Regions from separate parts of the Homo sapiens genome. Here regions 2, 3, 4, 5, 6 and 7 are each linked to region 1. Evidence: promoter capture Hi-C in 16 types of primary human blood cells and fetal thymus (Javierre and others, 2016). All regions are on one chromosome and are shown on one strand. Each heading gives the region's core, a stretch centred on a gene start or on the middle of the fragment in contact. The rest is flanking DNA. Distances are from core to core; before and after follow the strand shown. Region 1 holds the start of PKP4-AS1 (PKP4 antisense RNA 1). Region 2 overlaps ACVR1 (activin A receptor type 1). Region 3 has its middle 110 kb from the start of UPP2. Region 4 has its middle 94 kb from the start of UPP2. Region 5 has its middle 51 kb from the start of UPP2. Region 6 has its middle 30 kb from the start of UPP2. Region 7 overlaps CCDC148 (coiled-coil domain containing 148).

Region 1 (3,301 bases), core at 428-2,927:
GTAGACTTTATCTCAAAGGTAATAACTTTGTGATATCACCCAGATGTTGTGGGGGAGTGGTCTAGAGGGAAGCAAGGCTGGGGATAAAGAGGCTAGTTAGGAGGCTGTGACAATGGAGGCAAAATGTAATGGGGCCCTGGATGGAAGTTGCAAATGTGGATGGAGAGATGAATAAGGATTCAAAAAATATTTAAGAGGCACAATAGACATGCTTTGATAGTTGGTTAGAAATGCAGTGTAATGTGTCCAAGGAATCTAGGATGACCTCAGACACATTTGACTTGAGCAGTTGGGCAGCCAGATGGTAGAGCCATTTGGAAAGACAGTGACTCCAGAAGGAACAGGTTTAGCACTTGTGAACTGAATTGGCCATTAGGTTAAAAGGAGGCTTCAGAATTCACAGAAGGTCAAGTTGAAAGGCCCAAGAAAAACTGACTTATTAAAGTTACAGAGGTCAGGTCAGAGGAGGAAAAGACAGGAGGTTGAGAAGTTCAATCGAAAAGGCGTTCAGATGAGAAAAGGAGGCTACAAAACCATATGTACAATAAAATACACATGCACATGATAGAAACAAGGAAAAGATGCTAGAGAAATCCATATGAACACATTAGCAGGAATTATTGCCTCATAGTAAGATCACTGGTGATTTGTAATTCCTTCTCTTTGCTTAGCTGTATTTGCAAAACTAAAGGTTGCACAATAAATGTGTGTTCTTTTTGTAATAAAAACAAAAGGTGTTTTTGAAAAGTGGTTATGCAGGTGAGGGAAGAATACGGAAGAGCTTTTCTTTTTTTTTTTTTTTTCAGGCATAGTCTCGCTCTTTTGCCCAGGCTGGGGTGCAGTGGCACCATCTCGGCTCACTGCAACCTCTACCTCCTGGGTTCAAGTGATTCTCCTGCCTCAGCCTCCAGAGTAGCTGGGATTAGAGGCAGGCACCACCATGCAGGGTTAATTTTTGTATTTTTGGTAGAGATGGGGTTGCCATGTTGGTCAGGCTGGTCACTGGTCTTGAACTCCTGACCTCAGGTGGTCTGCCCACTCAGCCTCCCAAAGTGCTGGGACTACAGGCATGAGCCACCCCACCTGGTCTAATACTGAAGGGCTTTTAACTTAAAGTGAAAAACTTAATTGGAAAGGTTTATAAAAGTAAAGCTCGTGGACAACTAACCTGATGTACTGTCTCACAAACTTGGTTGCATATTGAAATCACCTGCACAGTTTCAAAAATACTGTTCCTGGATCCCACGTCCACAGCTTCTGATTTAATTGACAGGAGGTGTGGTCCGAGCCTGGAGATTTTTGTAATGCTCCCCAGGTGATTCCAATGTTGGCAAAGATGGAAAACCACTAATGCAGTTAATGAGAAGGAAGAGGGATAACTTTTTAGACTAGCATTCTGAGTTATTTAAAGGAGTGAGAATCTTGGGGGAGAAGGTTCTCAGTGAGGCCATAAAGCGGGGTCAAAGGTTGGCAGTGAGATGGCACCCCAGGGTCAGGCATGAGGTCCATCCCACAATATGCTCTTAAATGACAACCTAGTGAAGTGAGCTGAGCTCAACCTTAGAAGGACGCTCCAAGAAACTCTGCAAAAAATGGGGACATTTTGCGCATAAGGAAATCTGAGGTCCTGCCAGCTTTGCCGTGGTCAAGAGCACGTAGCAGCTGGTTCCATATTTAAAGGCAAGCGGCTCTCACATCCTAAGGTATTACCCAGCAAAAGGCAGCCTCAGGAGGCAGCCCACTGAAGACCTTCAAGTCCACGAAGACAATGTATGGATTGTTCACTAAAACTGAGGAATGATTTTCAAATAATCTGTCGCCAGAGGGCCAATCCAGGCTTCAGGCTCCAGTGTGTATGGAGGAGCTGCCACTGCAGAGACGCTGGCTTAGGGGGCTGGGGGATGCCTCCTTTGAATTCTGGGCCCACCACTGACAACACTTCTCTTCTTGGGTGAGTTATTTCATTTCACTGACCTCGCTCTCTTTATTTGTGAAAAAGAAGATAGTACTACCTGTTACACAGGTTTCTCAGGATTAAATGAGCTCAGGTTGAGCTCATTGTGAAAGCAGCTATTCGGTTTTTTAAAATGTGATTGCCATTGTTTGAAATAGCAAAAGAGGATATATCACTGTTAAAGTCTGTCTGGACGGCAGTCTTGCTGTATCATTTCCACCTCTTGCGTGACATTTTTTCCTTTCTTATTTAATTTTCTAAATTCTAAAGTACGGCGGCTAGAGCAGACAAACTGTTCTTTTCTTAGTAGATTAATGGCATTGAGTACATAGCCCTTAAAAACATAAAGTTTAAAAGCAAAAGCAATGGCCGGGCGTGGTGGCTCACGCCTGTAATCCCAGCACTTTGGGAGGCCAAGGCTGGCGGATCACTTGAGGTCAGGAGTTCGAGACCAGCCTGGCCAACATGGTGACCCTCCCCCCGCCCCGCCCCGCCCCACCCCACCCCATCTCTATTAAAAATACAAAAATTAGCTGGGCGTGGTGGCATGTGCCTGTAATTCCAGCTACTCAGGAGGCTGAGGCAGAAGAATTGCTTGAATCCAGCAGGCGGAGGTTACAGTGAGCCGAGATCACTCCACTGCACTCCAGCCTGGGTGATAAAGCGAGACTCTGTCTCAAGGAAAGGAAAAAAAAAAAGCAAAAGCAACAAACTCAAAATTTTGTTTTTTAAGTAAAATATCTTGATGTTAGTAATCACCAGAGTGAAGACAATGGTTACTGAAATTTCAACTCTAAGAGAAAAGGCAAAAGGCAATTATAGCAAAGTATGGGCAACTTCCATATATATTTCATTAAATCTGAGATGCCTTTTATTATAAGATATGTTCATTTTCTATATAGTTAAGGAAAAAAATAGTTGCAAATTAAACTATGACACAATGCTTTCTTTCCTGATACAATGTTTTCCATATTGAAAGAGCTCTTTCATATTTATTTAAACATCTCTTGTTACGTGTAGCACTCGACGTATCTAAAAAGGAAAACACAAGTGAAATGAATTGCTTAAGGTGTTCCACAAAACTTCACATTCTCACTCTTCTGAACCACTTTGCAGTCATCAATGCCACACATTTTTTCCAAACCACACAATTAACATCCTCTGGGCTTTCATGTGAACTGGCGATACACTCTCTTATGGTCTCCCGTATTTTTTCAGCCGCTGACATCTGTTTTTACAAGCTTTTTTGCCTAGTGTGTGATAGATGATCCTTTTGTGTATATCGTGGTAACAAACCTAACTCAGCTTTATCTACTTGTGGATATCTTCCCTTCATAAGCCCTATAA
Region 2 (3,301 bases), core at 637-3,136, 960 kb after region 1:
AAAAAAGCAGCTTTTAAATTTTGTATGCTCCTGTGGTGCCCTCTTGTGGAGTGCAGTCATTTGGTTAAACCGGTGTTGTCCAATAGAAACATGTGCATCACATGTAATTTAAAATTTTCAAGTAGCCACCTTAAAAACAAACACATGAAAAAACCCAAAAAGTTTCGTAAAAGTAGATTTAATTTTAACAGATATTCAACCAAATACATACCATCTTTGTCATTTCAACGTATAATCGATTAAAAAATTATTAATGTAAATTTTACATTCTTTTTGCTTTTGAAGTAAATTTTCAAAATCTTGTGTGTATTTTACACCTATAGCATATATCAATTCACACCAGCCACAGTTTACTTGCTCATGGCAATGTGTGGCTAGTGATTAACCCGCTGGACTGCACAGTGTTAGAAACTATTGTATTTATACATTAAAAAATTATTCTTTTGCATATTTTTAAATGATAAAATCACATTAAAAAATGACTATCTCCTTCTATTTACCTTTTAAAATTGCTTACCAAGTGTTCATTTTAAAGACGCTTTGAACTTTAAGTGGGGAAAGGGTATCACTTGCTCTAAATAGAAGGTTATCATAAAGTGCAAAAGAAAAAATAATAACATTCTGCATGGATATTATGCTGAGTCTGATGCCTACTCTGAAAAATTTGAGATTTGTGGGTGTTAAGTGAGTGCAAGAGACATGCCAATACCAATTTGAGACTCCTTGTCACAATCCGATTAATTGAAAGACAATCAAAGTAATAACTTTCTAATGTGATTCAGTTTTACTTAATGCCATTGCCCATGTGTATTTGAAATCATTTTGCAGTAAGTCTTGTTCTGCTAGACAGCAAGCTTCAAAGTGTCTGATAGTTCTGCAGTTACACTTGCCCTGCAGCTCCCCTTATGCTGGAGAAGACTTCCCCTCACCAGTGACCATCTGGGTAGCACAGATGCTACACCTGGACAATTGCAGGACCCACCTGTGGCAGGTTGTCACAGACATTTGGTAGTGCCTGATATGGGCTGGGAAACATCCCATTCTACTGCCTGCCCCATCCATCACTGGGCCACTTTTTGGTATGTAAAAGGGGGAAGTAACCTTCTGTAGCTTCCATTTACCTACTGTTTAAACTGTGGTACAGTGGAACTGGGGAAAGAGAATGCAGTATAAGGACATTTCATTTCAAAAAGTAGAGAAATACAATTTTTTTTGTTAGATATATACTTAGAAGTCTATTTCAAGCTTTAAGGAAAATTAAATGAGTTTATTGAGTTAGTAGCAAGAAGATGTGAGGATGAATCCTGACAAAGCTTTAGCAAAGCAAGATTCTAAAATAGGTTAGTTAGAACTTCATTCCTCAGAGCTGCTAACATAACTAATTACCAAGGGCAATAATAGGAATATCTGGTATAAATTACTGTTTAAATGGCTTTTAGAATTTTGAGAGAGGAATGGAGCATATGCCAAAATAGTCCTTTAAACTCAACCATGTCATGTGACAGTGTATCATGATATAATAACACAGTAAAGAACACTATTTAAAACAAGTTGTCATTATTGGTCTACATACTTGCTTATTTAAGCAATATGCTCATTTGTATGTTTCAACAAAGCATGCCCTTACTAAACAGCACGTCTACATTGAAAAACAAGCCTTGGCCATGCATGGTGGCTCATGCCTGCAGTCCCAGCACTTTGGGAGCCCAAGGGGGAAGATCACTTGAGACCAGGGGTTAGAGACCAGCCTGGGCAATATAGTGAAACTCTGTCTTGAACTAAAGAAAAGAAAAGAACAAAAAGAAGGCTTGGCATCTGAGAGTTGGGATATACGTTTGTTAGTCTTGGGTTGATTTTTTATTTTTCTTTCCTTAGGTCTGTGAACAGGGTTTAGAAGCAGGATCATACATTATGGAAAAAATAACACATTAGTTTAATTTTCAGAATTATTCTTCTCGAAAAAGAATGAATGAATAAGGAGCAAAAAGAACCGCAAGAGAGAAAATGGTTAGGGAGATATGAAACTCTGCTTCATCTACACTCATTTTCTTGTTGATTATCCCTTTTGTGGTTTTTAAGGGTTCTAAATTTCTTCCGTTGGATGCTCAGCTTTTGGTAATTTTGCCGATCAACAGTACTTCACAGTGGTGCTCAGAAGAAGTGAAAGAAGATGAAATTCACACAAATCAATGTATTGCTTTAGTAGGCCAGCCAAAATGTTTGGGAAAGGATGAGCTTTGGGGAATATTAAGTCAATATTACTGCAACTCTACCTTTATCACCCATCGGCACAATATTGTTTATTACAGATAATCTATGCCTGATACCTGCTTCTTGGCTTATGCTGAGAGTAAGAAGGAAAACCTTATCAATGAACTAACTGGGAATCTTTTTGCCAACACCTTCATTTGTAGACATTGACTTGGGGCACTGGTTTTATGTTTTCAATGAAAGCTTTATTTGTTTTCTTTTCTGATTTGTGAGTGATTCACATTAAGAAATGATAAGTAGGTGTTGATATAGTTTTGCTCCTCACCTGCCTAAAAGGAAACCTCCATCCAGGCAGCCCGTTGCTGCCTGCGCTTACCAATTTAATGATCCACATGGTCATTGGAGTCTTTTCGTTACAAATCACATTAGAGTTGTTTGTTCCTTATTCCTAGTTTGTTTGTTCCTAATTAGAGTTCCTTAGTTGGTATGGCAACTAAAGTGAATCATTTGACAGATACTTAGTGAGAATAGCAAAATATGTAAATTATACCCAGTTCTTGAAGTTGAAAGGACCCCCCCCACCCTTTTCTGTTCCACCTGCTATTCTCTCTACTGCTTTCCTTGAGATCATATCTGCTTCTTGGGCTTTCTGATTTACACCTTCAACTTTGTCTGCTCAGCTTCTTTCATTATATATTTTATTTGGAAACTCTGTGTATAAGAAAGGACTACTTATCCTTCGGGAAAACCTATCATATATTAGGTGAAGTGCTAGCTTCTAGTATTCCGAAGAAATAAAACTTTTCCTGGCCAGGCGTGGTGGCTCATGCCTGTAATCCCAGTGCTTTGGGAGGCCAAGGCAGGCAGATCACCTGAGGTCAGGAGTTTGAGACCAGCCTGACCAACATGGAGAAACCCCGTCTCTACTAAAAATACAAAATTAGCCGGGCGTGGTGGCGCGTGCCTGTAACCCCAGCTACTTGGGAGGCTGAGGCAGGAGAATCACTTGAACCCGGGAGGTGGAGGTTGCAGTGAACCCAGATTGCGCCATTGAACTGCAGCCTGGGCAACAAGAGTGAAACTCCGTCTC
Region 3 (3,301 bases), core at 340-2,839, 740 kb after region 1:
ATCTCCGGGAAGCTCAGACCTCCCTACCTACTTGGTGAAAAGAAGGAAATTTAGAACATTTGAGCTCGCAGGCTGCCTACTTAAGACTACCCGAAGAATGAGCTCTGCTTACCCCTGTTCCTTCGTAGGTACATGAATGAGTCGTCAAAAATTCACTAATAGTTGATTAATGCAGTTGTGACAGTATGAAAAACAACAAAAGGAGTGCAGTGCTGAAGAAATTCTAGATCTTGCAGATTTAATGCATCCACTTATATCCATAACTCAATCCCTTTTCATATGACACTAGTTATTGTTGTTACTGTCTTCCATAACCATTCCTACCACGACTCCAGTCCAGGCCATACCCCCTTCTTCTTGTCACAAGAACATCAACACTCTGCAGTCTTTTCTTCTTTATCATGTCTTCATCCCTCCATACTTTGCTCACCAAGATGTGTTTTTCCATCTGTCATATTTGTCTAATCCTGTTGATTTAATGCACTATATTTCTACTAAGAAAACAGTACATACAAAATACTCCCAAGCATCTAACTACTTTTAAAAATATAGATCTTTCTAAATTACCCATATGTATTGCCTGACCTGGCATCTCTCTCTATTTTCATACAGTGCTCAGCACTCCTGATTAATTGTCTCTTTAATATTTTATCCAAAATTGCACTGGGAAACCAAGAAAACAGGACAAAGGAATGTCATTTGTACTTTTTGTAATCTTCATTATTTACCAAATGTATTTTTCTTATAACCACCTTTGTAGTACTTCAAGATATGCCTAACAGGCACTGTTAGCTCTTTTACAGGCCTGTGGATAATGGAAAGTATGGAGAATCCTGGCTTGGAAAGGCAATAAATAAGGTTATTTTGACACTACTCTCTATTGGAGGAATTGTGATTGTTTTTGATTTTGTTTCTGTTTTGAGAGAAGAAGCTTGCCTAATGGCAATCCATAAGACATTCTGGAGAACAGTTATAGATTCAAAATGTGAGTTTTAGTCTACTTGAATGTAGCACCTTGTTAACAAAAAGGCTTCACTTTTATTGCCTCACTGATAATTCACATAACCTGCTGACATAGTGCTATGGTCTGAATGTGTGTATACCCCCAAAATTTGTATACTGAAACTTAGTTCTCAAGGTGATGGTGTTAAGAGGTGGGGCCTTTGGGAGGTGATTAAATCATGAGGGCTCTGCCCTCAAGAATGATGTTAGGTACCCTCTTAAAAGGCCTTGAGTAAGTGAAGTTTGGCTCTCTTGTTCTTCCACCTCCCACCCCGTGATATTGCAGATTTCACAACAACAAGGCACCATCTTGGGAGCAGAGAGCAGCTCTCCAAACATTAATGCTAGCACCTTGATCTTGGGCTTCTCAGCTTCCATAATTGTAAGAAACCAATTTCTTTTCTTTATAAGTTACCCAGCCTAAGGCATTTTGTTATGGCAGCACAAACAGACTAAGACATATAGAGTTCATGGTGGCCACTTTTTAAAAAAATGTACAAAGAACTTGAGGCACTGAGAGGCAAATGACTGGCTCAAGAACATGCAAAGCATGATCAAGTAATTTTGAGGTATACATTTTTAATTCAAACTCCCTTGGTAATCTGATGGTGAAAAGAATTTTCAATTTTCAAATTTCCTAGACTACATGCAGGAGAGAACTCAGGAGCATGGCACCAACTTATTTTGTCTTATGTAGAAGGATATCTGACTTGAGGTTGAGAATTCCACATCAGAATCTATAGGCCTTTTCCCCTGCCCAGTAGAGTTTAGTTGCCTACCTTCAATCTCTGCCAACAGCAATCCTCTACCCCTCTGGTTTAAGCAGGCTGTTCTAAATAGTTGCCGGTGGTTACCGTGGTAACAGACGCTTAGGTTTCAGCTTCGAATGCCCCTTTTAATGAGGCAATTTCAAGAATATCTGTGATAAATTACCAGACCACAGACTTCACTGCAGGGAGTTTTGCTTTGGAAAATCTAATAAAAAGACAGCAGAAAGAATGAGCAGTAAATGCAACAGAGAAAATGGGGCCAGATTTGGAGGGGCAAATGGAAGAGATGCCAGATCTGACTACCAAAAGCCAAATCAGAATCAGTTCAAACCAGAGCTTTAAATTATAAACGGTCCCTGAAGGGCTTCCTGACATGCTGAGCCAAGATTCCTTGGGAGGAGGAATGGTAAAGTGAGAGGTGGTGAGGGCAAGAGTTGAGTATGTCCTGCAGAGGGCTGTGTATTTTAAAGCTTCCATTTTCTATTTTATCATTAATTGTAGTGGCTAAATCAGAAACGGTCTCCTTTTGTTTCTCCATTTCTCCATGTATGAGACCAAGAGACATTGCCACCTGGAGAGGACATAATGAACTAAAATGTGGACTTTCGCCTAAGTGAATTTCACAGCAACCTAGGTTATCCACATTTCCCAAAGACATACCTGACTTGATAATGGTCCAGGATTCTGTTATTAATCTCTTATCCATTGTACCCATTAAAAATTTCACAGAAGGGTAAACGTACTTAAACACATTGCTACACTATTGTGTGGAAAGAAACATCTCCTAATTACCCAAAGGAAGACATGTCATTCATCCTTGTTATGATTGAATATAAAAACTATGCCTCCACTATATAAAATAGCTTCAGTTTATACTTGGTTGAAGGCAAGAGGGTAGCCTAAAAGAGCCTTCACTTACACTGTAAGTGCCTTGCCAGGCTCCCTAGGTCCCTTCAGGAACATCTTACTCTCGCTGCTCACGGAAAGCACCAGGGAACAGATGCATTACAGTTTGTGACAGGAGAACAGCCTGTGGATTCCGCCTACTCCCTCCAGTCCATCTGGGAGGTGGGTGAGACAGGGAGCCCACAGAGAGGGGGGCTCTCCTGGGAATCCCTCAGGGTACCATGGCTATTGGTGCTTTATTTTCAGTAGATGGCACTGTGTCTATTGAGATAAGCAAAGGGAGATTCTAGATGGGAAATTTAATTGTTTCTAGAGAAAGCACAAGGCATGTGAGAATGCACGGTATTTTATTTTTGCCTTAGTTACATGATAACGCAAATACTATTCAGTATTCAGGTTACATTCTCTTTGGAGCCCATGGAATTTTATGATTTATTATTCTGGCTCCATCTTAGGCCTGTGGTGAAGCCCAGGGCCATCCTATACAGTATATACTTGGAATAAGAATAAATCATGCTGAATGTTCACCTCTGTTACCCAACACATACAGCAGCACCTATACTCCATCTGTGCCCTGGATCCCCACCTGTGCACTGGCTCTCTCCCTTTTTCCCAGACAGGAA
Region 4 (3,301 bases), core at 495-2,994, 730 kb after region 1:
AGGACAAAGCAGAAAAACTGTTGTATTCAAGTAATTCAGAATGTACATGCTTTAGAATTAACTACAATAAACTAATAACTTTTCCTGAAAAAATCTAGCCAGAAAGCCAAGAGAATATATTTCATTAAAGCTTTAGTAATTAAATCCAAAATTAAAGGGTACTGTCCTATAATTTCTTGCATGTGTTAGAATTATAATATTTAAAATTTGCAATATCAAAGCATTTCAGGAGACCATCATATGTAGTCTGCATGTATTTCAAGGATAACCCTTAAAGGGTGATAAAAAGCTATTAAAGAGGGGAGAAAAAGCACTTTTATATACTTAGGTAACTTTCTAAGGAACAGCTGCCACCAATTAAACAACAAATACCTTTTAAAGACTCTTGGGGGTTCAATGTTCTTTCAGTGGACTGAAAAATCTGGGAAAATGGACTTCATTAGCAACTACAAAATTATTGAAAGGATATTTGAAATGGCATTTAATACCTGCAAAGACTGAAACAATCAGTAGTTTAAAATTTCGCCATAAAGATTGGTAAATAACACTGATTACAGGTCTTATTCAAACAGAAAATAATGAATATGTAATGAAAAGAGAATAATGATCCAAATTGCTTTTAATCTTGGAGTTATGCCTATTGATTGGCCTGGAAATAATAGTGCTAATCTTACAGTAGGAAAGTCAAGTGCTTTAGAAAGTCATTAGCTTTAGGGAAACGGGATACCCATTTCATTGTGCCAGTACAGTATTTTATTGAGTAAAGCCTCAAACAACTGTGTGTTTAAGAAAAATTCCAAGGTTAGCCTAAGTCAAATAACATTCCTCTCCACTCTGCTCTGTAACTGGTAAAAGCAATTTAGGTACTCTTTCTAATTCATCTACCTAAACACCTGCTATATTCCTGCAACACAAAATAATCAAATACAGTAAATAATTCAGCATTCCAAAAGGTAATTATTGATCTCACACTGGCTTATTTCTAATAAGCTGAAGAAGTAATAACCTTCTCAAAATAGTAAATTTACATTTTAGACTGGCATTCCTGAGACACTCTGGCAAAGTTTCATGAACGAATATATTTATAAGCAAATATACATTAAAAACACACAAAGTCTTTTTAAAAGTCATAATTTCTCATCTCTAGGAAAAGCCTCAAAGGATTCTGAATTTGAAATATCTTTACTTCCCATTAACTTTCCATGTATCCAATTACAAGTTAAATTTACATTCTTTTCAATCCATTTTTGAGACCTTAAATGTATTCTTAGATCCTGAGCTTGAAAATTGATTGCTTTTATTTTAATTTAAATGTTAACACAGAAGCATCTGGTTAATGAAAATAGAGATACATGAAAAGCCAGGCACGGTGACTCACTCCTGTAATCCCAGCACTTTGGGAGGCCTGTAATCCCAGCACTTTGGGAGTCCAAGGCAGGCGGATCACGAGGTCAGGAGTTCAAGACCAGCTGACCAACATGTTGAAACCCTGTCTCTAGCCAGATGTGGTGGTGCGTGCCTGTAATCCCAGCTACTCAGGAGGCTGAGGCAGGAGAATTGCTTGAACCTGGGAAGTGGAGGTTGCAGTGATCACTCCACTGCACTCCAGTCTGAGCGACAGAGCAAGACTCCGTCTTAAAAAAAAAAAAAAAAGAGAGAGAGAGAAATACGTGAAAAACCCACGCTCCTCTTAGCAAATGTGCATGGAACAAGGAACTGGCCGGTGTTAAAAGTTGCCAGGCAGGGCAGCAGAGAGCACTTCACAATGACATGGTTAGATGAGGCCCTCAAGACAAGCTGGTTGCCAGGGAACACTCAGGGCACCTGAGAAGTGGGCAAGATCAATTTGTTATGGGGAAGTCAGCTGAATGCAGAGCTGAAAAGAGAAAGTGCAAGCCAGAGGGAACAAGAAAAGACTGAAGTCAGAGTGGAAAGAGCTTGGGCTTGGAAGTCACGAAAACCTGACTTCTGACCCTTATCAAATGTGTCACCTCTGGGAAAGGAAACACCTTTGTCTCTCCGACTTGGTGTTTTTCACTTGTCAACTGAGTATAATGATAGCACCGCCTCGCAGAATTATTATAGGGTTATAAGATGATGCATATCAAGCACTTAGCACACTGCCTATGAGTACACAGAAAGGGCTGAGCAAAGGATATGAGTATTACTACTGAGTGCTGCTGCCAGAGAGGCTGGCAAAGGGAAGGTGAATGCCAGTCTCAGAGAAGGATACAAATGGGTACCTCACAGAGTCAAAGTCAGGGAGGCAAAGGAAACAAGGCAAAGGGAACTAGGATGGTGTGGAATCTCCTCACTAGGCTTTGCATTGAACCAAGGGCCTTCTGGTACACAAAATCTTGCACACTGAAATATGCCCCTTGGAATGTTCACCTTTCCTGACCCTGTCTTAAAGATACCTTGCTCTAAATCCAGTCATTTGTAACAGCTGCTCTGGAAAGCAAATCTGGTGTCATTTCAGATCTGACAAGTGCCTTTGAGTAAGAGCAGGAAGGAGAAGCTCATTCCATTGAAAGGCTTCCTCGAGTATGCCTAGGAAGACGCCCACTGGAGATGGTTTGTTAGCTTGTTTGCCAAAACAAGTGAGTCTTGGAAGTTGCTTTTATTTTTTTAATTCAAGTGAATGGTCCCTTTATTTTTTAAAATGTGAGGTAAGTATCTCTCCCTTGTTTCTGGAGAAGATGGTGAAGTTTCCATGCATCTGAGTGCAGACACTGCAGTCTGGAAGATGTTGAGTGTTCTGCTTCATATTGGGAATTATGGACTTTTTTTTTTTTTTTTTTTTTTTGAGACGGAGTCTCGCTCTTTCACCCAGGCTGGAGTGCAGCGGTACGATCTCGGCTCATTGCAAGAGCCGAGGCTCCGCCTCCCTTGTTCACGCCATTCTCCTGCCTCAGCCTCCAGAGTAGCTGGGACTACAGGCGCCCACCACCACGCCCGGCTAATTTTTTATATTCTTAGTAAAGACTAAATAACACGGGGTTTCACCGTGTTAGCCAGGATGGTCTTGATCTCCTGACCTCGTGATCTGCCCGCCTCGTCCTCCCAAAGTGCTGGGATTACAGGCGTGAGCCACCGTGCCCAGCCATTATGGACATTCTTAACCACATTGTGCTCTTGAAGAATTAAATAACTTTATTAGCCATAAAATGGTGTTTGTAGGCTGAACTCTCCTCTACTTACTGCCCTTTAGGACTAACAGCCCAGACTTGGGTAAAGGGGAATGCGCTTTGGGGTGTTTTGCTGATCACTGTAGCTGCGCAGTGTAATGAGACCATTCCCT
Region 5 (3,301 bases), core at 330-2,829, 680 kb after region 1:
TTTACCAGTTCCTACTCTAGATAATGATGATGAAGATGATGATGACGACAGTGAAGAAGACAAGCCACTTCTGCCATTTATTGGGCAAAAGGCAATAATATTAATTCTATTCTACAAATAAAGACATTGACGCCCAAAGATGTTAAGTAACCTTATCAAAGTGACAGAGCTAATATATGGCAACCAATGTCACTCCTAAGTTTGTTCTCCCAATTCAGTCATTCAATACCCATATAATGAATGGCTACTGTTGGTGTCCAGGGCATTAGCCACTAGGGATAGAATGGTAGGCCTTACTCCAAGGAATAATAACTGACTCCTTCCTAGGTAAGAGTAACTCTCGATAGTGTCCCTGTTTATTGAAAGCTTACCCCAAGTATACTTCTTTCCAGTTTACCCACATCTTGATATCGCCACCATCATACTTTCTACTACAGCTTCATTTGATAGAATAAGTCAGGTACATCTTTTGTTCCTTAGGAACATTCCTCACTGTTTATTGGACCTTAGACTCATTGTTGGGTTCCAATTCCTTACCTACTTTTTCCTTCAGGTGACATGTTCCCATTATTCCCTTACCTAGAGTTACCAGATAAAATACAGGACACCAGTTGAATTTGACTGTCAGATAAACAACAAATTTTTTTAGTCTAAGTATGTCCCACATAATATTTGGGACATATGAAGGGTGTTCTCTATTTTTATTTGCTAATTCTGGCAACCCCTACCTAAATATTTTTGTAGCTGGAAGAATTATCCACTGTGGGTAGCAGGGTATTTACTGGGAAGGCCTCATGGGTTAGGACAGACAGCATTGGATTTCCCAGCAGAGGATATGTGTGCCAGGCCAGCTGGGCAGCATCCCTCCACAGAATGGGAATGAGAGCCCCTACTCTCAAGGTCTGGTGAAGACTCAGTGAAATGTTGTATATGAATAGCATTGTGTTTGGCAAAGTGTAGTTGTTTTGTTTTGTTGTTGTTGTTGTTGTTGTTGAGGTGGAGTCTTGCCCTGTTGCCCGGGCTGGAGTGCAGTGGCATGAACTCGGCTCACTGCAACCTCCGCCTCCTGGGTTCAAGCGATTCTCCTGTCTCAGCCTCCTGAGTAGCTGGGATTACAGGTGCCCGCCACCACACCCAGCTAATTTTTGTACTTTTAGTAGAGATGGGGTTTTGCTATGTTGGCCAGGCTGGTCTTGAACTCCTGACCTCGTGATCTGGCCGCCTAAGCCTCTCGAAGTGCTGGGATTACAGGCGTGAGCCACCGCCCCTGACCATGTAGTTGTTATTTATCTTCACTCCAAGTAATATTTGTTCATTCATTTTAGTCATTTCCTCTGGTAGTTCAGATTCTAAAAAACAGATATTCCTCAATATACCCTCAGCACAGCACTGTCAGATTGTGTCCCTCTAGCCTCTTCTTTTTCCAGGATCTCACTGAAAGATTTAAATGACTATCAAAGTTAATTTAATTATGAAGTATGCAAAATGCTCCTCCCAATTTATAAATTCCATGGGATAAAAAAAGGAAGTTTGACAGACTGCGTTGTTATGAAATGAAAGATATTATACACACATACACACACACACACACACACACACACACACACACACACACATATTCCTAGAGTGACCCTCAATGATTTTTTTTTAATTTTTATGGGTGCATAGTAGATATATTTATTTATATAATGTTTATGTGTGTGCATATATATATATTTATGGGGTACATGTATATATATTTCTGGGGTACCTGAGATGTTTTGATACAGGCATGCTCTGTGAATTAGTCACATCATGGAGAATGGTGTATCCATGCCCTCAAGCAATCCTTTGAGTTACAAACAGTCCAATTATACTCTTTTAGTTATTTTTAAATGTCCAATTATTATTGACTATAGTCACTCTGTTATGCTATCAAACAGTAGGTCTTTTTCATCCTTCCTAACTACCTCAGTGCATTTCAATAGTTCATATTCAGTTACATTATCTGCTTTCGAGTTCCACCCTGTTTCAAATTCCATAATCACATTTGACAGCAGCAAATAAAAACTCATTTTTAAAAAATTCCTGGAATAATAGAATTTTTATTTTCTTTGTGCATTCAGTAAATGCCAGATCCATCTTACTCTTTTTTCTTTTTTTGAGACAGGGTCTTGCTATGTTATCCACACTGGCCTGGAACTTCCAGGCTCAAGGGATCTTCCCGCCTCAGCCTCCTAAGTAGCTTGGACTACAGGTGTATATCATCACACCTAGCTAGATCCTTCTTATTCTAAGGTCTCTTTTAGAAACTGAAATTTGATGGTTATAATTAGTGCAATTTTTCATCTCTTACCTTATTAGAGAATAAGGATAAGATAGACTAGTACATTTAAAAAAAAAAAACTAAATAATCCATGTAAATACATTGGAGCCAAACTGTTTACTTCTCAGTCTTCACTTAGAGTCTTTGCTTCTGTGCTTTTAGCAAATAGTTGCTAATGCCTCTCACACTTTCTTAAAAATGCAGAAGAGAATGATATGTTACCTGTCTCCAGGAGATGGTCAATGTGGGAATGTGCTCATGGAAAACCTCAGTTCATAAAGGTGTCTGTTTATTTCTCATGAAACTCTTTAGCCAAACACTCTGCTAAATTTCTGTATCAGGAATTAAGCATAAAACGCTCCACTTTCTGTTGTTGCCTATGACTCTTAATATTTTGAGAACTAACAAAAGGTAAATAAAATGTCAGGAATCAAGATTAACCATTAGAAATAAAAAATGAATCACCACAGTGAAGAAAAAAAGCTTAAATTCAAGGGGATTTTTATTTCAAATGGTAATGGGGCCTATTGGTTCAAGTGAAATCACATAAGAGCTATTTTGCTCAAGTCTTTTCCAAGTGAAAAATTGTCAACAGGATTAAAGAAATATATTTTGAATTCTAATGTATGATCATAAGAAACTAGTGTAAAACATTTACAAAATTCTTCTCCCTAGGTAATATTCCCCAGTTCACTTTAAAATCCCAAATGAAAGCTGACAGACTGTTCTACTACAGACTGAGATCTTTTAAAATGGTCTCAGATCCCAAATGCATGAGTCAATTAAAGTGCCTGGCGCTCCTCCTCCCCGCAGAGTGTATTAGTCTGATTGCTGCTGCCTGTTCTCCCCGACTATGATTTCCATGCACCTGTTGTTCACAGTAGAGGAAAAAGCTCACTAATGTATTACCCCTAAAATGAAAAGAGGCTGAAAAACCATTCTCTCCTGCTAATAAATGCTGGGCTACAGTAAGCAGATGAAGAAGTTTAAAAAGGA
Region 6 (3,301 bases), core at 538-3,037, 660 kb after region 1:
TGTTCTATCACCTTTTTGTATTTGAATGCTGATATCTTTCTCTACATTTTGGAAGTTCTTTGATATTATCCCTTTGAATAAACTTTCTACTCCTATCTTTTTCTCTGCCTTCTCTTTAAGATCAATACTCTTAGATTTGCCCTTTTGAGGCTGTTTTCTAGATCTTGTAGGGATGCTTCATTTTTGTTTATTCTTTTTTCTTTTGTCTCTTTTGACTATACATTTTCAAACAGCCTGTCTTCAAGCTCACTAATTCTTTCTTCTGCTTGATTAATTATACTCTTAAGGAACTCTGATGCATTGTTTTAGCATGTCAGTTGCATTTTTCAGCTCCAGAGTTTCAGCTCAATTCTTTTTAATTAGTTCAATCTCTTTGTTAAATTTATCTGATGGAATTCTGAATTCCTTCTCTTTGTTACCTTGAATTTCTTTGAGCTTCCTCAAAACAGCTATTTTGAATTCTCTGTCTGAAAGATCACATATCTCTGTTTTTCCAGGATTGGTCCATGGTACCTTATTTAGTTTGGTGAAGTCAAGTTTTCCTGGATGGTCTTGATACTTGGGGGTGTTCATCAGTGCCTGGGCATTGAAAATTTAGGTACTCATTGTAGTCTACACAGTCTGGGCTTGTTTGTGCCCATCTTTCTTGGAAAGGCTTTCCAGGTATTTGAAGGGACTTGTGTCCCATGATCAATAATGCTGTGGTTCTTATAGACTCATTGAGTTACCACCTTGGTGTTCTTGGATAAAATCTAGAAGAATTCTCTGAATTGCCAGGCAGAATTCTTGTTCTCTTCCCTGATTTTCTCCCAAATAAATGGAGTCTGTCTGTCTGTCTGTCTGTCTGTCTGTCTGTCTCTTTCTCTCTGTGTGCTGAGCTGCCCAGAGCTGAGGTTGGAGTGATGCCAGGAGCCCTGTGGCCACCACCACTGGGACGGTGCTGGGTTGGACCTGAAGCCAGCACACCACTGGGTATTGCCTAAGGCCCACTGTAACCACTATTTGGCTACTGCCTGTGTTCACTCAAGGCCCTAGGGTTCTACAGTCTGCAGATGGGAAGATAGTCAGGTTTGTGTCTTTTCTGTTAGGGCAGCAAGTTTCCCCAGACCCTTGGCAGGTACAGAGATGCTGTCTAGAAGCCAGAGATTGGAGTAAAAAAACCTAGAAATCTACCTGATGTTTTATTCTGCTGTGGTTAAGCTGGCCCTCAAACCACAAAACAAAGTCTTTCCTGTTCTTCCCTCCCTTTTCCACTGGCAGAGGAGGCTCTCCCAGTGGCCACCACCACCACTGGCTTGCAGGGAGTTCTGCCATGCCACCACCAATATTCACGTAAAGCCGAATGGCTCTTCAGTCAGCTTGTGGGGAATGCTGCTAGGCCTGTGACTCATACTTCAGGGCAGTGGGCTCTCCTCTGGCCCAGGGCAGGTCCAGAAAAGCTGTCCAAGAACCAAGGCCTAGACTCAGGGTCCCCAAGAGCCCACCTGATATTCTACTCTACTGTAGCCAAATACGTACCTAAGGTGTAAGACAAAGTTCCTTTTACTTTTCCCTCTGCTTTTCTCAAGCAGAAGGAGTCTTTCATAGTAGTCGCTGCAGCTGGGAACGTGCTGGGTCTCACCTGTAACCAGCATATCTCACACTCTCACCCAAGACCCACTGCATACTACCTTAGTGTCACTTTTAGTTATTTGGGGCTGAAGGGCTCTTTAGTCAGTAGATGATGAATCCTGCCAGGACTTGGTTCTTCTCAAGGCAGTGGGTTCCCTTCTAGTCCAGGGTGTATATAGAAATGTTGTCTGGGGGACTCATAACTCTGCCCAGTGTCCTATCTTATTGTGGCTGAACTGGTAGTCAAGATACAAGCCAAAGTCCACTTTCCTCTTAGCTTTCTTCTCCTTAAATAGAAGGAAGTAGTCACTTTTTTTTTTTTTTTTTTTTTTTTTTTTGAGACAGAATCTCGCTTCTTTGCCCAGGCTGGAATGCAATACCATGATCTAGGTTCACTGCAACCTCCACCTCCCGGGTTCAAGCAATTCTCCTGCCTCAGCCTCTCCAGTAGCTGGGATTACAGGCATGTGCCACCATGCCCAGCTAATATTTGTATTTTTAGTAGAGACAGGGTTTCACCATGTTGGCCAGGCTGGTCTTGTACTCCTGACCTTAAGTGATCCGCCTCAGCCTCCCAAAGTGCTAGGATTACAGGCATGAGCCACCGTGCTGGAAGGAGTCACTTTTGTTGCTGCGAGTTGCACTGCCTGGGGTTGTGGGAGGGATGATGCTTGCACTCCCTTAGCCACCCCAGCTGATGTCTCCCTAGGTCACGTGCCGCCCTAGTCCACTGGCTCTAATCCTAGCCCAGCATTAGGACTTGCCTAGGAAATGCAGTATTTGTGTCCCTGACTGCCTTTTAATTTTACCTAGTACTCCAGAGCACTTTAGCCCTTGGTGATGAGGCTTGCAGAGAAACTCAAGTCCCAACCACTGGGATGGATGATCCCCCTCCGGCTAAGGCTGATCCAAATGATCTCTCTGTGGGCAGGCAATGGCTGAGCCCAGCTCAGCTTTGCTCTCTGCCATGGCAGAACAGCACTGAGTTCAATATCAAGTCCTACAGTCACTGTGCTCTCCCTCCCTAAAGTGCTCAGATTCCCTCTCCATGCCATGTAGCAGCTCTGGGGAATAGGGAAGAGGTGGCATCAGTGATTCAAGACTGTGTCCTACCCTCTTCAGTGCCTCTTTCAATGATATAAAGTTAAATCCAGGTACTGTGACTCCTCACCTGACTTTTGGTTCTTATGACAGTGCATTTTTGTTTGTAGTTAGTTGTTAAAATTTTGTGTTCCTTTGGGGGCAGTCAGTGGAGGCTTCTGTTTAGCCACCTTGCTCCGCCCCCCATAAACAGTGGCTTAATTAATATTTTTAGTGAAAAATGCCAGCATGGCAGAGAGGAAAGAACATTGGGTTAGGAGTCAGAATACCAGGGTTCTGATCCCAGCTCCATAATTAACTGGCTATGTGATCATAAGGAAACCATACAGCTTTTCTTGTTCTCAGTTATCTATTAAATGAGGTTGGATAATTAACACTTTACTTGAATCAAGAGACCTGTACATAGATAGAAACACGTCTCTGATTTCTGGGTAGGGACAGGTAGAGATGGCTTGTCTAGAATGGGTAGAGATGTCCTATCTGAATGACACCAACATAAATGGAAAAGCTGCTGAATGCTTGGGGGTAGCTCAGTTTGGGTTCATTCATGAGACAGAGTCCACACGGTAATTTGGACAAGGGAAAGTTT
Region 7 (3,301 bases), core at 223-2,722, 540 kb after region 1:
AAAAGACAGGGTTTCTTGAGGTTTATTTCTGTCCATACTTGAATAAAGCTGGCGAGAAGATATATACATGTTTCCTTTAAAAGAGGGGGCTATCAGTGATCTACATATTATTTGTAAGTTCATCTGAATCTCTGTCCAGTTTATTGCTTTATCTTTTCCAGTAAAGTTGGTTCCCTGTTAATTTAATTAATTTTACTATCTTTGACTTTATTGTCTGAGTGTTGATGAAAGCAACACATCTCTCTCTCTTTGCCTTTCTTGAACATAACCTTTGGCATCTCACCTGAAAAAACTACAGGGTAGGTAACAGAGTTCCCCAAGTAGGCACTGGAGATGGGCTCTCCTCCTGAAATCCAAACACCAGGGTTCACTTGGCAGAACTCTAGGGTGAACTGCTTTGTAGAGTTGTCTGTCTCCAAAGAAAAAAAAGGAACAGTGATTCCGGAGCTCAATTCCAAAAGCTGAATTCTGAGACAAAACGGAAACTGCTAAGGTAGGTGTGACTTGGCAGAGTCACCAAAGAAGCTAGTTGAAACTCTATAGCCAGAGGAAATCAGCATTTGAGAAAGCCAAAGGAAAAAAGCACTAGAAAAAGTCACACCCAATACATAAATATATTTTATCATTTGTTTTTTTAAAGCATGTTTAAAATGCCTAGCCAAAACTTTAGCTAATGAAAATATTTTACTTGGGGGGATTAGAAGGGTTACTTAAAAAGTAGAAGAAAAAACCCCGAAGGCGTTTGTGAAAATAACTGTTCTGCTCCACTGACTTTCTTTTTTAACCTCAAATGTTAAAGAGGCTGTTTGTGAAGCCTCTTCGCTGATCATTTCCTAGGCTGAAAGAAAATCAAGGTTTACTTCTTTGCTGTGGGCGGCTGAATCACTACAAAAACCTTTGGTCCTTTTGATGTTTGCTTTCTACAGAAGTTCTGAGAGATCTGGGAAGGAAGAAAGAGAATGTAATGGGGATTTTTCAAACAGCATTAGAGAAGCCATGTTTTATTAATCTTATTTACTTAAATCATTTGTTTGAGGGAGAAGACTGTGGTTTCTTTTGTGGTCTCAGTGCCCTCTCGGTTCAGCAGTGCTGCTAAAGAAGGGAACCCAGTTCCATCATCATAATCATACAGATGTCTATCTCCAGAAAAACGAGGACCAATTAAAATCAGTTCTCACAATAAGTAGCCGAAGTTAAAAATAGATAGAACTAGACCGAAATATTATGACTTGATAACACGGTGGTATATTTTATTAGCATGTCTTTTTAAAGCTCAATACTAAAGCAATGCCTCTTTTAGTATTTGTGATTCTGAAAACACATTTATGAAAACCTTGGGCATCAGGAATTATGTGTCTTATGAGAATTTTTCAGCTGAAAAAAACCTCTCCAATAAAACTAATCACCCATGCTTATCATTTTCTTACTTTTAAAAGCATTATTTTGCTTTACAAACAAAATTAGCATAAGAATTTAAAGAAAGGTTCCAATGTTATGAGGTAAACCCTCAACAAAAGTTCCCTTCTTACACAACTGTTAAAATGATTATATGGCCTCATGAAGATTTTTTAAATGCAATACATATTAATTGTGGAGTTAAACTATATCTACCATAAACCATTTGTGAGTTCAAGAGTCACTGTGCAAATTACCCAATTAGTATCAAATGGCAGATGTCTTTTGTTAGTGAGTTCATATGATGGCAAGTGACAGGTGCCTCTAAGTATTCAAAATCCAGATGTAAGCTCTGCCTTTGTCTACTTGATAGGTGTTTCTAATTGCTCTGGGTTTTTGGTTTGTTTTGCAGAAATATGATTGTTATACATTTACATATATGGCACTTTGTATAAATGTGCTGAATAAATGAATGTATTAGAGGCAATTGGGCAAATAAATGCTGATCTGCCTGGGTGGCCTTTTAAATTTCAGTTCATGATAAATAATTTCTGAAAGCCAACATTATTTCTGCCTGTGCTGTCCCTCCAAAATCATGATCCTAGCAAGTCTGTATCATGGTCGTGGATGTCATGCCTCAGTTTGGCTTTTAGCATTCATGGCTCCTTATTCTCAAAAGGAACTGACACTAGATTTGTTCTCCAGTAATTCAATTTCTCTTCCAGCTTCTCAAATGATTAAATATCTTACAAAGACATACTCACTGACTAATTAGACAGGCTTAAAGGAATAATGTATATTTAATTTATTCTTACATTTTTATTTTGCCAACTCCTGTGTCCTGTTATTTACCTACAGCTTAGGATATTCAATAGAATGCTTTCCATCACTTTTTAATTTCACTCATCATTTATTCTATGTTTCTTTCATTTATTGGTGCATATCTTCTGTGTTTTAGGCACTCTGCTAGTTCTTGGGGATACACAGGAGATTAAGTCATAGCCACTAGACTCAGGAAGTATACAGTCTAGTAGACAAGACATGAAAACAGAAACTATAATACAAAGCAGGAAGTGTCTATGTGTCTATGCCATTCAGTTTGTTTACTTGACCATTCTTGCTTGCTTATGGAAAGGTAAATATTATTTCCCAAACTGGGTCTATTGAGAAAGGTTTCTGTTATCAGATAACTGAGCAATAAGCACACTAAGTCCTCCTTTTAGAGATTCATAATGCACTCCACCATATTATCATAAATATTCTGAAAGCTCCTGCCATAAATAAATTTATTTTACTTTGTTTATCTTAGTATTTCCCAAACTTACTTGAACACATTTTTATAGTATACGTGTTAACTTCCTGTGGGAAATTAACATTCCATGGACCATCAGTTTGGGAAAAGAACTGATTACCCTTTGGAACAGCTAGATACATGTCCTCTTGTTATAGAGGACAAAAAGACACAGATTTCCTTACACATAGAAGATGTGTCTGCTAGTCAGGAATCTTCAGAAGCAACTGACAAAACCTAACTCAAACTAGCTTAGGCAGAAAAGGGAATGAATTGATTTACAAGAATGGGAATCCAGGGCATGAGTCTTGCCTCAGTGACTCAAATGGTATCTTCAGATTCCTCTCACTCTCTTTCTGACTCTTTACTCAGTACCTGTGTACTGAGTACACATTCCTACCAACAATGTATAAGTGTTCCCTTTCTCTTCAACCTTGTCAACATCTGTTATTTTTGTTTTTTACTTTTTAATTATAGCCATTCTGACCTGTGTGAGATGGTATCTCATTGTGGTTTTGTTTTGCATCTCTCTGGTGATTAATGATTGCATCTCTCTGGTGATTAATTGTTGGCCACTTACATGTCTTCTTTTGAGAAGTGTCTGTTGATGTCCTT

The links. Contacts are between HindIII fragments. The CHiCAGO score rates a contact against its expected background, and 5 or more counts as called.
Region 2: a fragment that was not itself captured here is called in contact with the fragment with the promoter of PKP4-AS1 in region 1 in 2 of 17 cell types (M2 macrophages and erythroblasts); the score reaches 7.1 in M2 macrophages.
Region 3: a contact is called between a fragment that was not itself captured here and the fragment with the promoter of PKP4-AS1 in region 1, in 1 of 17 cell types (monocytes). The highest score is 5.1, in monocytes.
Region 4: a contact is called between a fragment that was not itself captured here and the fragment with the promoter of PKP4-AS1 in region 1, in 1 of 17 cell types (total B cells). The highest score is 6.9, in total B cells.
Region 5: a fragment that was not itself captured here is called in contact with the fragment with the promoter of PKP4-AS1 in region 1 in 14 of 17 cell types (naive CD4 T cells, M2 macrophages, M0 macrophages and 11 more); the score reaches 9.5 in naive CD4 T cells.
Region 6: a fragment that was not itself captured here is called in contact with the fragment with the promoter of PKP4-AS1 in region 1 in 3 of 17 cell types (non-activated CD4 T cells, M1 macrophages and megakaryocytes); the score reaches 6.3 in non-activated CD4 T cells.
Region 7: a fragment that was not itself captured here is called in contact with the fragment with the promoter of PKP4-AS1 in region 1 in 3 of 17 cell types (endothelial precursors, M2 macrophages and non-activated CD4 T cells); the score reaches 8.7 in endothelial precursors.

The regions. Positions count from the first base shown.
Region 1 is chr2:158,733,378-158,736,678 of GRCh38, reverse strand. PKP4-AS1 (PKP4 antisense RNA 1) reads left to right here and starts at 1,677. Exons shown (of 4, transcript NR_135242.1): 1 at 1,677-1,951. The HindIII fragment of the contact is 4,247 bases long and covers 1-3,197 here.
Region 2 is chr2:157,774,382-157,777,682 of GRCh38, reverse strand. All of the region lies in intron 5 of ACVR1 (activin A receptor type 1), which reads left to right. Among named protein-coding and RNA genes, the nearest start is that of ACVR1, 100 kb to the left of the region's middle. The HindIII fragment of the contact is 1,141 bases long and covers 1,316-2,456 here.
Region 3 is chr2:157,988,997-157,992,297 of GRCh38, reverse strand. No RefSeq gene overlaps it. Among named protein-coding and RNA genes, the nearest start is that of UPP2, 110 kb to the left of the region's middle. The HindIII fragment of the contact is 1,311 bases long and covers 934-2,244 here.
Region 4 is chr2:158,005,982-158,009,282 of GRCh38, reverse strand. It overlaps a transcript of UPP2 not described here. Among named protein-coding and RNA genes, the nearest start is that of UPP2, 94 kb to the left of the region's middle. The HindIII fragment of the contact is 3,223 bases long and covers 133-3,301 here.
Region 5 is chr2:158,049,473-158,052,773 of GRCh38, reverse strand. It overlaps a transcript of UPP2 not described here. Among named protein-coding and RNA genes, the nearest start is that of UPP2, 51 kb to the left of the region's middle. The HindIII fragment of the contact is 2,422 bases long and covers 369-2,790 here.
Region 6 is chr2:158,070,199-158,073,499 of GRCh38, reverse strand. It overlaps a transcript of UPP2 not described here. Among named protein-coding and RNA genes, the nearest start is that of UPP2, 30 kb to the left of the region's middle. The HindIII fragment of the contact is 4,494 bases long and covers 1-3,301 here.
Region 7 is chr2:158,188,926-158,192,226 of GRCh38, reverse strand. The region is part of intron 11 of CCDC148 (coiled-coil domain containing 148); the gene reads left to right. The region is part of intron 3 of CCDC148-AS1 (CCDC148 antisense RNA 1); the gene reads right to left. Among named protein-coding and RNA genes, the nearest start is that of CCDC148-AS1, 24 kb to the right of the region's middle. RefSeq lists an enhancer at 692-851. The HindIII fragment of the contact is 4,296 bases long and covers 1-3,301 here.